3 separate regions of the Homo sapiens genome follow, and regions 1 and 2 are each linked to region 3. The links are contacts of gene promoters, found by promoter capture Hi-C in blood cells and fetal thymus (Javierre and others, 2016). All regions are on one chromosome and are shown on one strand. Each heading gives the region's core, a stretch centred on a gene start or on the middle of the fragment in contact. The rest is flanking DNA. Distances are from core to core; before and after follow the strand shown.

Evidence for each region. Contacts are between HindIII fragments. The CHiCAGO score rates a contact against its expected background, and 5 or more counts as called.
Region 1: a contact is called between a fragment that was not itself captured here and the fragment with the promoter of PRPF39 in region 3, in 1 of 17 cell types (total B cells). The highest score is 5.7, in total B cells.
Region 2: a contact is called between the fragment with the promoter of CFL2 here and the fragment with the promoter of PRPF39 in region 3, in 1 of 17 cell types (total B cells). The highest score is 5.2, in total B cells.

The regions. Positions count from the first base shown.
Region 1 is chr14:31,196,587-31,199,286 of GRCh38, forward strand. All of the region lies in intron 2 of HECTD1 (HECT domain E3 ubiquitin protein ligase 1), which reads right to left. Among named protein-coding and RNA genes, the nearest start is that of HECTD1, 9.9 kb to the right of the region's middle. The HindIII fragment of the contact is 960 bases long and covers 946-1,905 here.
Region 2 is chr14:34,713,220-34,715,919 of GRCh38, forward strand. CFL2 (cofilin 2) reads right to left here and starts at 1,374. Exons shown (of 4, transcript NM_138638.5): 1 at 1,319-1,374; 2 at 35-342. The coding sequence starts at 1,321. RefSeq lists silencers at 1,071-1,130, 1,221-1,810. The HindIII fragment of the contact is 2,283 bases long and covers 861-2,700 here.
Region 3 is chr14:45,082,766-45,085,465 of GRCh38, forward strand. It overlaps PRPF39 (pre-mRNA processing factor 39), which reads left to right and starts at 1,351. Exons shown (of 14, transcript NM_017922.4): 1 at 1,351-1,484. It overlaps PRPF39-DT (PRPF39 divergent transcript), which reads right to left and starts at 1,261. Exons shown (of 2, transcript NR_184211.1): 1 at 707-1,261; 2 at 283-622. RefSeq lists a silencer at 1,056-1,345. The HindIII fragment of the contact is 5,294 bases long and covers 1,029-2,700 here.

The DNA of each region.
Region 1 (2,700 bases), core at 176-2,675, about 14 Mb before region 3:
TACTAAAAAATACAAAAATTGGCTGGGCATGGTGGTGTGCGCCTGTAGTCCCAGCTACTCAGAAGGCTAAGGCAGAAGCATTGCTTGAACCCGGGAGGCAGAGGTTACAGTGAGCCGAGATTGCGCCACTGCACTCCAGCCTACACGACAGAGCAAGACTCCGTCTCAAAACAAAAAAAAAAAAAAGAAAGAAAAGGCAGGTATATTAATGGTAGAAAGTAAGGAAAGTACTTATTGATACTGTATCTGCTAAAAAAAAAAACAAAAAAGAATACAATACTCTTCCTCCTGCATACTAACAACAAGTTTCTCAACTCCACAAATACCTTCCATGGGCATTTTAGGCATTAGGTGGAAAACAGGTCCAATATAAGCAATCTCTTCAATTCACTCCTTCAGTATCTGGATATTAGCTATTTGTGTGCCAGGCACTATGCTTAGCAATGGGAAAACAAAGACGAGCTCGTAGTCCAGTGGAGAACTGAAAGTATAGTAAAGTGGAAGTAGTGTATACATGTGAGAATATGCAGGAGGGGTCTTTGAAGACATTTAAATTTGATCCTGTAGGTGAAGAACCCAACAGATTCTGTAAAAGGGAGTAGCACAGGCAAATCAATTTTTAAGACTATAACTCAGGGCCAGGCACCGTGGCTGGTCTCGAACTCCTGACCTCAACTGATCCACCCACCTCGGCCTCCCAAAGTGCTGGGACTGCAGATAGGCATGAGCCACCACGCCCAGTCCCAGCCCTTAACTTTTTACCATCAAACCCAAAACATGTGCATCTAACGTCTCTATCTTCTCTGTTACAACGGCAGTACACAACTTCTTTCTGCCTAAAACCAATCTCTCCACCAGTGGATCAGGGTTTTGCTACTCAAGGTGGGATTTTCTGACCAACAGTTTCTGCATAATCTAGGACCATATTAGAAATGCAGAATATCAAGCTTCATATAAGACCAACTGAATCAGAATATGCATTTTAACATGATCCCCAGGTGACTCTCATTATGCACATTAAAATTTAAGAAGCACTGCTTCTATACAAAAGCCAATTCTCTCCCAGTTTTTCAGAATCCTTACCCTAGGGATTATTCACTCTCTTTCTTATCTCTTTGACCTTTAAAAGAAAAAACCCCACACTCCTTTTCCAATTCAATTCTTCAAAAAAGTTTCCACATGTCCTCCATTTCATGTTCCACTCACTCCTCAACCCATTCAGATCTGCCCCTCACCACCACTCCACTCAGCTCTCATTAAGATCAATGACCTTGAGAATGTTGCTAAATCTAAAGGACATCTTTTCATCTAACCCCTACTTGACCTCTCACTAGTATTCAAAACAATTGCCCTTTCTCTTCTTGAATCACTTTCTTTCCTGTGTTGACATGCGCACTAATGATGCAAAAGCAATAGTGGATAAAACTGCAGGTGCTTTAACATGAATCAAGGCAGTAGCCCTAACCTGTACTAGATAACTGTATTCTTCACTGCCAAGCACTGGTATTAAGAAAAAAGCCAGTTTCACTAAAGAATAAACTAGATGAAGCAAAATTATTAAATTTACTAAATCTCAACCCCTGAAGATACATCTTTTCAATATTCTACTTAAAGGAAATGGGAATTAATTATAAAGCACTGCATACGGAAGAATAATGGCAAAGTACATACTTGAGGACTGAACTAGCCACTTTTTTCTTGCAACACCATTTTTACTTGAAGGACTATCAGACAAACTGATCATTCAGACTTGGCTATCTGGCAAACATTTTTTCAAAATTTAATCACGTATGCCTTTCATTTCAAGGAAAACGATCAACTGTATTTGTTGCCAATCATAACACTCAACTTTACAAGCAAAAATGACATTTTTGGAAAACTTGTATTTGACACCATGAGCTTGAAAGCTTCTGAATATTTAAAAACTTGTCTGATGAGAGTGGTAGTCATATTGACAAATAAGACTTTTTGGCACTGTGGAATGAGATATGTCCACATTTGGAAAATCTGTGTAACTCAGTGGACTGATATTTTCCACATGACCAATGCATAATTTTTGCAAAAGTAAACATGGGTAAAACAGTCACTCAAAGTATAAGACAGACCATCAGATTTTAATGTAACAGAGTGAGTATAAGTTCACTGATATGATATCAGAATCCACATTATAACTAATCCTGGTAGGGTGCAGTGGCTCATGCCTGTAATCCAGTACTTTGGGAGGCCAAGGCAGGTGCATCACTTGAGGTAAGGAGTTCGAGGCCAGCCTGACCAACATAAAATACTAAAAATAAAAAAAATTATTCCAGTGTGGTTGTCTGCGCCTGTAGTCCCAGCTACTCAGGAGGCTAAGGCGGGAGAACTGCTTGAATCTAGGAGGTGGAGGTTGCAGTGAGCCAAGATCGCACCACTACACTCCAACCTGGGTGCGAGAATCTGCCTCGAAGAAAAAAAAAAAAAAAAAAACAGAATCCACATTATAACTAATCCTTAAGAAACTATCACTTGTTGAATTTTGACATGTTATCAAAGAAGCATATCCATGATTACGTTAAAAAATATAATATTCTTCTTCCCTTTCCCAAATACATCTGTGGATGATTTTTTCATATATTTCAATCAAAATAACATAATGCAACAAACTGAATGCAGAAGCAGATATGAGAATCCAGCTATCTTCCATTAAGGCAGACTTTAAGG
Region 2 (2,700 bases), core at 124-2,623, about 10 Mb before region 3:
TTTAAAAGTACTTTTTTCTTTTGTTTTTACACACCAGAATATAAATACTAGGTCTTCTTTCTTAGACTCTTTTGTTTCGTATGTGGCATCGTACAAAGCATATCGGCAATCATTCAGAGGTAGCAACTTCACAAAAGATGTGTAGGGGTCCTCTACAGTATCACCAATGTCACCCACCAAGATCTGCTTTGCTTCCTCTACAATTATTTGTCTTTTGTCATCGCTTAAACAGAAGAGAACTGCTTTCTTTCTCTTTTTGATCTCCTCTTGTGTAGAAGATTTCCTTACTTTCATATCATTAAAAACTTTGATGACTTCATCATTCACTGTAACTCCAGAAGCCTGAAAATAAACACAGAACAGTAATTCAGAACACGTATTTTGGTTTTAACCAAAATTACTGTTTGCCTAGAGAAGACTCACTTTAGTCTGGACATCAAAAATTGCACCGTACCATGTAAGTCGTCCAATCAGATTTGTCACATTTTAAGAATCAGTAGACGATACAGCGAAGGAGTCTAACTCATCCTGCCCATTCATCCTTCTTAAAGGGGTTTGGACGTGGAAGCGAAAGGGACAAATACAAGTTGTCCCATCCCTGAAATGTTTCCTATTTCACTGGGTGATGTCAGAGCTTCAGGAGTGGCAGCAAAAATACCTTCTGTATTGTGTCAACTCGGCTGGCCTTAAAAAAACACTTTTGGATTTCAGTTAATGCTTCTACTATTTTTTTCTTTAAAGTCATCCTAGCCACTGACGTTTCCTCATAAGGAAAGAGAATCAAGTGTAAACTCCAAACCGCCCACGGCCCACACACAGCTCACATGCAGACACTCCAAAACTAACTGATCGAGTGTAAAAGCTTTTACGGCGAGAAAGCATTTTAAAAAGTGTTTTCCCTCTTCCTTAATCTCCCCGTAAGGGTTTTATTACAGGCCGTCCAGACCCTGACCCACACAGCGTTCGCAGCACGTACCAATTTTAAAGCCTCGCGTGTTAAGTAAAATTAGGAAGCGAAGGGCAAAGGCGGCGCGAGCGGCTGCAGTCCGCAGACCCTCTCGCGCCCCCGCCCGCCCGGCCCCGACCCCCAACCTGCGCCGACGCCCGGGCCCTCCCCGCCCCCCAAAATCCAAAGAGCAGCAGGGCAGGGCCTGACGGCCGGAGGGCAGGCCGGTCGGCTGGAGAGCAGCGGAGCCGCAGAGCAGAAGCGCCCACCTTGGAGGCCAAAATCAGGTTAAAATGGCGGCCTCACTCCCGGGGCCGTGCGGGGGGCTTTTCTCGCCTCGCCGCGGCCTCCCGGCCAGCGCGCTCGTCTTACCATAGTGCCCTCGGCTGTGGCTGCGGCGGCAGCTCGGGCTTCGGCTCTGTGGCACTGGGAGGAGAAGGAGGGGCGGGCGAGCGGGTGGGCAGCGGAGAGTGCGGGGCACGCCGGGAGCTGCAGCCCGAGGGAGGTGGCGGGGCTCGGCGGGCCGCAGGCAGCGGGCGGGGCGGTCACGTGGGCACGCCTGGTCCCCAGCCGGCGCCACCCGCTCCCAGGCCGGCCCTTCTGTCTCGCGGCCCCGGCTCCCCGGCTGTCCGCGTCCTCGGCCTGACCTCAGAGCGCGAGCCCTGCAGGCCGGGGGGGGCGACGCGGTGGTAGCGGAGCCCGGGAGCCTGGCAGAGCCGCCTCCAGCCCCCGAGCATCACCCGTCAAGCCGGTGGGAGAGAGTGCTGGGCTCCCAGAGGGGCGTTTCCACCGCCTCCGTAGGGCCCTGCGCCAGGGGTGGGTGCGTGTGAGGGGAACTCCTGCGAAGGTGTCTTTCCTTATTTACCTGTGGTTTTCCCGAAAGAGGCTGGATTTCGACATTTTGAGTCTTTTTGGAAAACCCCCAGTTGTTTAGAGATAAATGAGAATAAATACTACACGAGATTGCTCCAGTTGATAGTACTTAGCAAAAACAAAATGATACGCAGTGTTGGTAAATCACTTTTCAAAACTCTGGTTGAAATAATAATTATGATTAAAAAATTACGTGGTAGCATTCCTTAGTAATATCCTTTTACATTTTAGACTTCATAGGAAATGGATTGTACTCTCTCTTAGAGATTTCATGAAGCTCCAGCTATGACAGCTGATATCAAATAAGCCGACGCAGCCTCTTCTAGCAAAGCCCATATAACTGCGCCAAGGCAGTTTCTCTTTTTTTAATCTTAACTCCTCCATACCTCAGGGTTCTTCATGTGTAAAACAAACTGTTATTAAATTATCGTTAAGGCCCTTTCCAGCTTTAGATTTCAGTTTCTGAGTATATCAATGTTCAGTAGGAAATGGTGTGTTTTTGGTGGTCTCAGGATTGAGGTTAGGCAGGAAAGTCATGAGATGGTGTTTGCCCTAGATTGCGTGATAAGTTCTTTCAGCCCAAATTTACTGTATTTTAAATGGAACATGCTAGGCATTGAAACAGACCTATTTTTCTGTCTATATCTTGGGTTTGTTTTCTTAATTGGAAGATAGACTTCGTTTAGAGACAAAAATTGAGAAGGGATTTCCCAATGTCTAAGCATGAATCCCAAGCAAGTGGATAATACTTTATATCTAGCTGGTACATTACAATTTATGGAACCTTTCACTTTATCTGTTGAACTTCCAAGAAGTCATGGAGAATGTCTCTCCAGAGCTCTGATCATCTGCTATGTGTAGGTATTAGCAAATTCCTGTTC
Region 3 (2,700 bases), core at 101-2,600:
AAAGCTACTACTAGGTGCAGTGTGATGCAAGTAAAAGGTAGGAAAAAAGACTGAATTTGGTATTTCGAACGAAAGGTGCTGGTGAGAGGATTTATGATTAACCTGCGTTGTGACAAGAAACGTCGTCTTGTAAATAAGTATTTCCAGAGGAGACAGATTTCAGATGAGGAACTTGGAGCCCAGTAGTAATACTAATGCACCTGGAACAACAGATTACATGGTAAGTGACAGGTGAATGCGGGGGCACCAATGTAACAGAATCTTAAAGGGAGAGAGGCCAGATTTGAAAGAAAATTTTTTTTTATTAAAGTGGAGATGGTGGTACAACTGAAGAGGACTGCTAAGATTGTTAACGCACAGTCCCCCTCAATTTGTCCAGAGGATAACATATCCCTTCAGATACAAAGATTTTTTTTTTTGCTTGGCCAACTTTAGTCAGGTTTCTGAATCTTCTGCTAGGCTCTTCTGTACACTTTCTTTGTAAAATCCAGTTTAAGCAAAGAACTTTGCTAAGTCAGATTAGCAATAAACCCCCATCCTTGATAGCTGATCATCCTCAATATCTGATCAGGTTCTTCAGTCTCCACCATCCCCCAGGTGATGCCTCATTATCTTGGCCTGTCTTCAGCAAAAATCCTATTAGGTGGGTTTAGCCAAAATCCCCCTTACCCTGATGTTTCCTCTTAGTAATTATACATTCACTTACCACCGCTCCTTGGCTATAAATCTCCACTTGCCCATGCTGTATGAGGAGTTGAGCCCAATATCTCTTTCCCTACTGCAAGTCTCCATTGCAGTCAGTGGTCCCTATACCTGTTGCGATGGTCCTGAATAAAGCCCTCTTTTTGTGCTTTAACAAGTGTCACTAAATACTTTTTTCTTTAACAATAGCCCGTTCTCCAAACCCCTAACTCCAGAACTGTTTAGTTTTCAGGAAACCTGAGTGGGCCCAGGGTCTATACCATCGTGAGATTTGTGGGTTTAAGGCTGAATTTCTGCCCGTTTTTAGGTAAATGTTTTAGTGTGAAAGCTTGAACAATTGTAGGGAAAACCTTAGATTTGCCCCCAAAAATGACATTTTGCCGTTTTTGGTGGGGAGGGGTCAGGGCGCTGTGTTTAAGATCAGGCGTGTGAAAGCCCCTAAACGCCCTCCTTTCCTTTGGGAAGTCCCTATGGAGGGAAAGGCAGGTAGGCGCAGCGGTCCCCGCCCTCGCTCGCGGCGGGGCGGGGCGGGGCTGCGGGGGCGGGGCTGGGGCCGCACGGGCAGCGAGGATCCCTGGGAGGGCCAGGCCTGCGCGCTGCGAACCCACGTGACTTTTTCGCCTCCAGGGACACTGACGCATGCGCATCGTGCCCTGGACCAGGCGGCCGTGGCGCGGGTGGCGGCTGCTGTGCTGGCTGTGGGGACGGAGGCGGTGAAGTGCCATCTTCGGCTAGGTCGTCACAGGCTCCGGCTCATGGCATCAAGTGGCATCCATCATAAGGTCTGCTGGGGCGGGCTCCTTGAAATTAGCTGGGGCAGAGGGTGGTACTTGGTACTGAAAGGGGCCTGCCGGGTTTCAGGCCGCGCTCTGGCCGCGGCCTCCCTCTCCCGCCCTGTTTGAGGCCTGGCTCGGATTCAGCGCTCAGCTGTCCATTCCTTTCTCCTTCCCACCTGTTGGGTGGAGCGGTGCAAGGTATTTTTTTCTTAGACCAAACGTTTCACTTGAGGGGTGCGTTAGGTAGGGTGGAGAAGTGTGGGCCTCCTTCGCCTGGATTTAGGAAGATATTTGGGGGTAATTCTAAAGCCCTTGCTTCTCCCGGAGCTGGAACACGGCTGGGGTGGCTGGAAGTGGAAGGAGCACATTTGCAGCCGCCAGAGGATTGGGAAGATAATATACGTTCTATTACTAAGGCATGTGAGCGCCTTGTAGGGCACGTTCTGTCTTCTGACTACATAAGCAACACTTTTGCGACCCTAAGTCACAGCACCCACAGCTTTTGGCAGGATACTTTAAAACAGAAAAAACACATCATTGATCCTGGCAGGATTTTTTAAGGGATTGTGCTTAAGAATGTTTAACTTTGGTAATCAGAGACCACCACTGGTGTTTTTCTCCAAAATCACATCTTTAAGTTAATTAATACTTGAAGTTAATAAATAATACTGCTCAGTGTATTAGTAATGATGCCATAATACCATGTGAATTTATGCTGATTCAAATGTTGTTTTTTTCGTTTGATACTCATATGGCCTTCTGTTTGAGGACTTCAGATTATTTAGCAACTGATTTAATCTGTTCAGAAATAAACTTTGCTACAGCTGGAAAGCGTGAGGCTTGAGAAAGCAAGTTTTGGACAGGGACGTATGAAGCTCATGTTGAAACTTAAGTGTTTTAGGCTGTATGGGAGCTTGAATGGAGTGAAAAGAACAAGCGTCTACTGTCAGGTTTTCCTCCTCCCTCTAGATTTATAACCTCATTCTAGAGTTGCAAAAGTTGGAACTTTCCACTGTTCACTCTCTAGTAGGGATAAAGTGATGGAAAGGAGTTCTGTTAAAGAGGACTAGTACTTAGATTGTGAACTTTGAAGTAGGGGTTGAGCATAGATGGCTCATAGGTGGTATGAGACACTATTTGTGTAAAGTCTCAGAATATTTTTCCTTGCTTATAATTGAATAAGAAAGAAGATGTTTAAAAGTCAAATGATAAAAATTGTATG